2 separate regions of the Homo sapiens genome follow, and region 2 is linked to region 1. The links are contacts of gene promoters, found by promoter capture Hi-C in blood cells and fetal thymus (Javierre and others, 2016). All regions are on one chromosome and are shown on one strand. The core of a region is centred on a gene start or on the middle of the fragment in contact, and the rest is flanking DNA. Distances in the headings are between cores, read along the strand shown.

What was found. Contacts are between HindIII fragments. The CHiCAGO score rates a contact against its expected background, and 5 or more counts as called.
Region 2: a fragment that was not itself captured here is called in contact with the fragment with the promoter of GPR148 in region 1 in 1 of 17 cell types (non-activated CD4 T cells); the score reaches 5.5 in non-activated CD4 T cells.

The regions. Positions count from the first base shown.
Region 1 is chr2:130,726,987-130,730,825 of GRCh38, forward strand. It overlaps GPR148 (G protein-coupled receptor 148), which reads left to right and starts at 2,084. Exons shown (of 1, transcript NM_207364.2): 1 at 2,084-3,350. The coding sequence starts at 2,166. The coding sequence ends at 3,209. RefSeq lists enhancers at 1-333, 655-1,234, 1,235-1,813 and a silencer at 717-886. The HindIII fragment of the contact is 6,760 bases long and covers 1,282-3,839 here.
Region 2 is chr2:129,863,836-129,867,674 of GRCh38, forward strand. It overlaps LINC02572 (long intergenic non-protein coding RNA 2572), which reads right to left. Exons shown (of 6, transcript NR_149127.1): 4 at 2,327-2,419. Among named protein-coding and RNA genes, the nearest start is that of LINC02572, 12 kb to the right of the region's middle. The HindIII fragment of the contact is 2,145 bases long and covers 814-2,958 here.

The DNA.
Region 1 (3,839 bases), core at 834-3,333:
ATAGGGAACCTCGGCAAGTGAGACCAAACTGATGTTCCCTTAGGGGCAGCACCCGCTCGGTGCTCTGAGATTGTTGTATGGGCTATTTAATTCCTAAGATGATTCTCAGCAGGAGGCAGGCTCTGTATCATCCCAGCGGCTTTTTCACCTTGGGAGTTTCGCGCTTTCCGATTCCATGAAGTTGCTGCTTGTCACCCCGTCACCGGCTATAAGGATTTAGCTCACAACCACATTTTTACTGAGGGATTGTCATTTAACGAGTTTCCCTCTCCCAGGGAATCTGCATTCTAAGACCCCAAAGGCCGGCGAGGGTCGTTGTGCTGGGCTGGACAGCAGAGAGAGGCTCGGCCTTGGCCCTCAGCCCTGCAGCACACAGGGCACCCGCGCAGAGAGCGTGGCCTGCGAATGGCTCTGCTGCCTCTCCCGGCCTGGGGCCGATTAGACCGGTCAGAGCATCTGTAAAGTACAAGGGGCCCCTAGGGAGTGCAGGCCAGGGCAGCTGGGGCAGGGAGGCGGGGTCCGCCCCATGGCATCGCGGTTTCTCTGGAAGGGGTGATGGGCTTTCTCAGAACCACCTTTAGTTTCTGTACCGTAATCGGCCAAAAAGGCGCAGGCGCTGCTGCTCCTGGCAGCTGCGTAACAGGCTCTCAGAGGAGGACGCGGTTCCGGGCTGCGGCGGGCGTGGTCCGGGGCTGTTCTGGGCGTGGTCTTTGGCTGTGATGGGCGTGGCCTTGGGCTATGGAGGGCGTGGTCCCAGGGCTGCGATGATGGTGGTCCGGGGCTGTGGTGGGCGTGGCCCCGGGCTGCGGCGGGCGTGGTCCCCGGGCTGCGGCGGACGTGGTCAGGGGCGGTTCTGGGCGTGGTCCCTGGGCTGCGGTGGACGTGGTCTCGGGCTGTGACGAGCATGGTCCCTGGGCAGCAGTGGACGTGGTCTCACACCCAGAGTCTGAAATTTCTGCCTCTTCCTGGCCCTAAAAATATCCTGCCTGTTCCCACGCGGCTCCTGCCTTCTGGAGCAGTCTGCCAGGCCGGCGGTGGGTGTTGGGCAGGGGTCTCAGGCTGCCAGCAGCCAAGTGCAGCCCGTTCTGCAGTGATGACAGGGATCTGTGGGCAGAGGGGACCGAGCCTCGGAGGATGCTGTAGGTGGGAGAGCTAACATTGACTCAGCATTTACTTCAGGCTATGCACTGTGCTGAGTCCCTTACCTCTGGGCTTCCGCAACGTTTCCCTGAGGTCAGTGTGGTTGGCATTCGTGTTTCACAGATAAGGAAACTGGAACAAAGCTTTTCAAGGCCACGCAGCCAACACCTCGAGAGAGCGGGAGAGCTTGTTCACTTGAACTGGATCCCCAAACACCAACAGCCACCCTGGCCACTGGCTCTGACTGAGCTCACCCCACCCCCGACAAGCCAGGTGCCTGGGGAACCTGCCTTCCATTCCTCCCCACTAGCTCCTATGAGGTCTCTGCCTGCCAGGCCTCCTCCTCCCCAGAGGAAGGGACGTTTCTACCACACAGCGACCCCACAAGTCAGCTGAGATTTTGGGGGCACCGAATACTCACATGGAGCCCTGAGTGGAAGGGGTGTAGGAGTCACACTCACACGCATGCACAGGGTCACCCTGAGCTGGAGACCATACCCAAGGCTCTGTGAGGAAATGTGAGTGCGCCCAGGCCCCTCCAGCCTGGTCCAATTTGCTGAGCCTCTAGCTCGACAGAGGTCAGACCAGGTCTACAGCCCAGCGATCCTAGTTCCAGACAGCTGCTCCTTCCTTTCTAGGAGGGCAGCCCGGAATATAATCCAGTGTGGTGAGAATCCATTGCACACTCCCTGTGAGCCAAGCAGACAGGTTTGGGGGCCACTGAGATAGGGGACACTTCTGGAGGGGTCAGTGACTGCAAAATGGTGGCAGTGGGATGATCTGTTATGTCTACCCACGCACATGCAGCTGCACAGTTGCAGAGATGTGAATGCAGGAAGCCAGGTGTGAGTCTGAATTCACATTGGTTTTTTTATCTTTATTAAGCAGTCATTCCTAAGGCCTGCCCGAGCCTGGCATCTCTACAGAGGAGTGGTGCCATCAGGACCCCTGTGGGGCAGATCAACACTCAAGGCAGGTGCAGAATCAACAACCTGTGACAAAGCCAGCCATCCCTGCCAGGAAGCATGGGGGATGAGCTGGCACCTTGCCCTGTGGGCACTACAGCTTGGCCGGCCCTGATCCAGCTCATCAGCAAGACACCCTGCATGCCCCAAGCAGCCAGCAACACTTCCTTGGGCCTGGGGGACCTCAGGGTGCCCAGCTCCATGCTGTACTGGCTTTTCCTTCCCTCAAGCCTGCTGGCTGCAGCCACACTGGCTGTCAGCCCCCTGCTGCTGGTGACCATCCTGCGGAACCAACGGCTGCGACAGGAGCCCCACTACCTGCTCCCGGCTAACATCCTGCTCTCAGACCTGGCCTACATTCTCCTCCACATGCTCATCTCCTCCAGCAGCCTGGGTGGCTGGGAGCTGGGCCGCATGGCCTGTGGCATTCTCACTGATGCTGTCTTCGCCGCCTGCACCAGCACCATCCTGTCCTTCACCGCCATTGTGCTGCACACCTACCTGGCAGTCATCCATCCACTGCGCTACCTCTCCTTCATGTCCCATGGGGCTGCCTGGAAGGCAGTGGCCCTCATCTGGCTGGTGGCCTGCTGCTTCCCCACATTCCTTATTTGGCTCAGCAAGTGGCAGGATGCCCAGCTGGAGGAGCAAGGAGCTTCATACATCCTACCACCAAGCATGGGCACCCAGCCGGGATGTGGCCTCCTGGTCATTGTTACCTACACCTCCATTCTGTGCGTTCTGTTCCTCTGCACAGCTCTCATTGCCAACTGTTTCTGGAGGATCTATGCAGAGGCCAAGACTTCAGGCATCTGGGGGCAGGGCTATTCCCGGGCCAGGGGCACCCTGCTGATCCACTCAGTGCTGATCACATTGTACGTGAGCACAGGGGTGGTGTTCTCCCTGGACATGGTGCTGACCAGGTACCACCACATTGACTCTGGGACTCACACATGGCTCCTGGCAGCTAACAGTGAGGTACTCATGATGCTTCCCCGTGCCATGCTCACATACCTGTACCTGCTCCGCTACCGGCAGCTGTTGGGCATGGTCCGGGGCCACCTCCCATCCAGGAGGCACCAGGCCATCTTTACCATTTCCTAGAGTTCTTGAGTCCACAGTCTGGCAAGCTGAGGTTAAAAATCATATGTTGAATGCAGCAGTGTCCACTTATGACTAACTTCTTAGAACAGCACAATATAATAGTGGAATTGGGCCTTTCAGAAGACCTCAACTGATGATTTTCACCATTTTGACAGTTTTTAAGTAGAGAAAGCTCTCTTATGACACTGAAATCCTACTTGGAAACGGAAGCAAGTAAAGGCAATCAAGCAGGGCTCTGGTCTAAGTCAAGCCTTGATCTGCGTCCCTCCAATGGCTTGCTGCACACCCTCCCTGGCCACTGTGGATGCATCCTTGCTGACCAACACACAGAAGCCAAAATGTTGCTGACAGTGAGAACCACAGAGGTAAGCAAGCAGAGCTGCTGAGTCCTGGGACCATGAGCTCTATCTGAGCAGCCGCTCAGGATGTGGGAGGGAGGAAAGGAAGCCAACGATCCACAGCAGTGGAGAGTGTCATGGAGATACCACTATAAAGCTGGAGTGTGCAAGGGTTACACTCTCACAATAAAGGTAAATGATAACCTAACCTTACAGAAGGGGTCAGCAAGGGAGTTTGCCTGCCTTGACTTTCGTGCTGTGTAGAAGAAGAAAATTCCTCGAGAATTCTTAA
Region 2 (3,839 bases), core at 636-3,135, 860 kb before region 1:
TCTCCACATATCCGGGAGAGGGTATCTTAAATGCAGCAAATGCCAAAGGAGGCAGTCCCAGGAGGGTGTTCACCCTGGTTTTACTCCCCCATTCTTTGGCCACAGATGGCTGATACCCTGGCCTCTTGTTTGTCTACCGAGAGAAGGAAGCAAAGAAGGAACATGCCTAGGCCACGAAAGCAAAAGCTTTGCCCAAAACCATCAGATGGTAACTCATCACCAGACTGTGTCACCTGGCAATGTGCAGATGGACCAGAGGCTGAGGAAGGGAGGTTTCTGTCTGGGCACGTTAACACCCAAACAAAATCAGGATTCCATTCTTGAGGAAGAAGGGAGATGGATGTTAGAAGGACAACTAGCCAAGCTAGGAGTTTAAAGGTTTTATGTTATACCAGATGGGTCTGAGAGGGACTGGGAAAATATTGGAGTCTACCCAAAACACCCAGAGAGACCATTAAAGGGGCAGAGGGAAGGTTGTAGATCCGATGTGGGGCCTGCTTGCCCAACACAGTAAGACCGGGTATCCACATGGGTTCTGCCGTGGCAGAAAGGAAGGCATTTATTTGCAAGGCACAAAGCAGGACGACCAGCAGCGAATGTTTAAATTCTGACTTCCCCAATGGCTTGCCCAAAAGGTTTCTAAAGGCAAGGGTAAATCTCACGAAAGCAAAGGTGATAGGCAAAATCTAAGTCAGTACATGGGAGTTACACATTGGTTTTGGCCCAAAAAGACGGGATATCTTAAAACAACGGGCTTACATGTCACAGGTAAATTCAAAGATTTTCTGATTTATAATTAGTTAATGAAAAAGAAGCTTTGTTTACAAATTTGAGGTCATCAGACAAGAATGTTAGCTCTGGCTGGTGGGTGTGACTCCCTCCAGGCCCTTCAAGAAGAAATTTAGAACAAATAATTCAGGTCTAGAATTCAGTCTTCAGGTCCCCCTTCCCAGAGGCCTATGTGCCACAGATCTGTTTGATGGGGGTCCAGATTTCTGAAAAACAACTCTGGGACATATGTTAAGATGGTATCTTTAGTTTCTATAGGGAACCAGGCATCTGACTCTAACTTCCCTGGCGGTTGTTTTAGACTACTCTACTACTATCTTTTTACTCATCAAGTTGCTCATTTACTTCTCAGGGCTAGCTGGGTACCTGGAATTTCCCTTAAAGGAACTCAAGATTTTCCTTTATTTCCATGCTTGGGGGGCCCTAAAATGGGGTCCCTGCTCTGTCCCAGGAAAATGAAAAAATGTGTGGCTTGCTTTTATCCTACCAGGTATAGTCAGTACAACAAAATGGTTAAATAATATTCACTTAGAAACATTTTTCTGGAATCCAGTGAAGATCATCAGGCCGAAAAAATCCCCAAACCAAAAGATATGCCTGAATAGAAGCATGTGGAAACTGCCCCATTTATAGCCCTCGAATTCATTCTTCAATTTTAAGTGTTTTACTTTCACAGCCTTCAAAAGCCACGTTCCCATTTAGAGAAGAAACTCTCTTAAAGGGAGTATTTTTTTTGCCCAAGATCTCTCTCCTGATAAAGTGCCCCAGGGAGATCTTATGCCACTTTTCATCTTTCACAAGAGGTCAAGAAACTCCCAGGAAGAGCTGGCTCTCAACCATGGGCCCACGCTTTCGGTATGTGCAGCCCCCACACGTGTGAACTTGCCTGCTCCCCTGCACCAGGGGTCTCCCCTCCAGAAACAGAAGGGAGGTTTCCCCATCAACCCTGCTTTTAAAAAAAAAGGTGGGGGGCGGGGAATCACTTAGTTGGACCTGACTTTCTTTTCTTTCTTTTTTTTTTTTTTTTGACATGGAGTTTCACTCGTCACCCAGGCTGGAGTGTAATGACAGGATCTCAGCGCACTGCAACCTCTGCCTCCCAGGTTCAAGTGATTCTCCTGTCCCAGCTGCCCAAGTAGCTGGGATTACAGGCACCTGTCACCATGCCCAGCTAATTTTTATATATATTTTTTTTTAGTAGAGATGGGGTTTCACCATGTTGGCCAGGCTGGTCTCGAACTCTTGACCTCAGATGATCCGCCCATCTCGGCCTCCCAAAGTGCTGGGATTACAGGCATGAGCCACCGTGCCCAGCCCCCAGACCTGACTTTCTAAATAAATCATTCCTGTTAGCAGGCCTCAGAACCACGCCATGCACCCAGTCACCCATCTGTTCAAAGTGAAGTGCAAGAGTCCTGAGCACGGCGTCAATGCTCCGCACCTCGAAGCGTCATTCCTAACCCACACAGCCAGGAAAATGAAAATGAGGCTTCTTTCCCCATTGTACCATGAGACGGCTGAAGCTAAGGTCGGTTACCTCATCCAAGGTCATCCAGACAAGCGAAGGGAGGCAACGGTCCACATTCCTTCCACTGCCCCACACACTTCCCTACACATCACGTATGATTTCCTGGGGGGAAACAAAGAAAAATAAAAGAAAATATTGCATCTATCTTATGCTAATAAATGCCCAGTATACCACTGCATCTCCTCCTCTTCATGAATACCCAGTTCCCAATAGTAGCCCCTATTACAGCAGCTCCTAGGTTCTTGTGTCTGGTGAAGCTAGCAAAAATCTTACACACTTAAAAGATGCAGAAGCACAATCCCAAAATTTTCACTGAGAGAAAAATTGAATTTTTAGAGCCAGGTTAGTTTTTTGTTCATTTGCGTTTTGAGACATAGTCTCTACTCCACCCAGGCTAGAGTATGGTGACACAATCTCAGCTAACTGCAACCTCCGCCTCCTGGGCTCAAGCGATCCTCCCACCTAAGCCTTCCAAGCTATCCTCCCACCTAAGCCTTCCAAGCAACTACAGCTATGCACTATCACACCTGGCTAATTTTTTCTTTCTTCTTTTTTGTTTTTTTGTTTTTTTGTAGAGATGGGGCCTACAGGTCATAGGTAGATTAAAAGATTTTCTGATTTGCAATTAGTTAATGAAAAGAAGCTTTGTTTATAAATTTAGGGTCCATCAGGAAAGAATGTTAGCTCTGGCTCACATGTGTGACTCCCTCCAGGCCCTTCAAGAAGAAATTTAGAACAAAGGATGGTAGTCCAGAATTCAGTCTTCAGTTCCCCCTTATCAGAGGTCTATGTGCCACAGATCAGTTCGGTGGGGGTCTGGGTTTCTGAAAAACAACTCAGGAACGTATGTCAAGATGTTAAGTTCAGTTTCTATAGGGGAACCAAGTATCTGACTCTAACTTCCACTTCCTTGGCCTGTTGTTTTAGACTACTATTACCTTCTTGCTTATCAAGCTGCTCATTTACTTCTCAGGGCTAGCTGGGTGCTAGCTTAGGCTAGTCTTGAACTCCTGAGCTCAGGTGATCCACCTGCCTCAGCTTCCCGAAGTGCTGGGATTCCAGGTGTGAGCCACTGCACCCGGCCTAGCCAGGTTTTTTGTTTTTGGGTTTTTGTTTTTGTTTTTTTTTTTTGAGATGGAGTCTCACTCTGTTGCCCAGGCTAGAGTGCAGTGGCATGATCTCTGCTCACTGCAACCTCCACCTCCCGGGTTCAAGCAATTCTCCTGCCTTAGCCTCCCAAGTAGCTGGGACTACAGGCACCCACCACAACGCCCGGCTAATTTTTGTATTTTTAGTAGAGACAGGGCTTTACCATGTTGGCCAGGCTGGTCTTGAACCCCTGACCTCAGGGGATCTGCTCACCTTGGCCTCCCAAAGTGCTGGGATTACAGGCGTGAGCCACCACACCTGCCCACCAGGTTAGTTTTTAATTAATCAGCCCATAATAGAAGAAGGAAAGAACATACCTAAGACAGATTGGCATATTAGTCATTCAGTTCCAATGCTGATACACACATGGCTA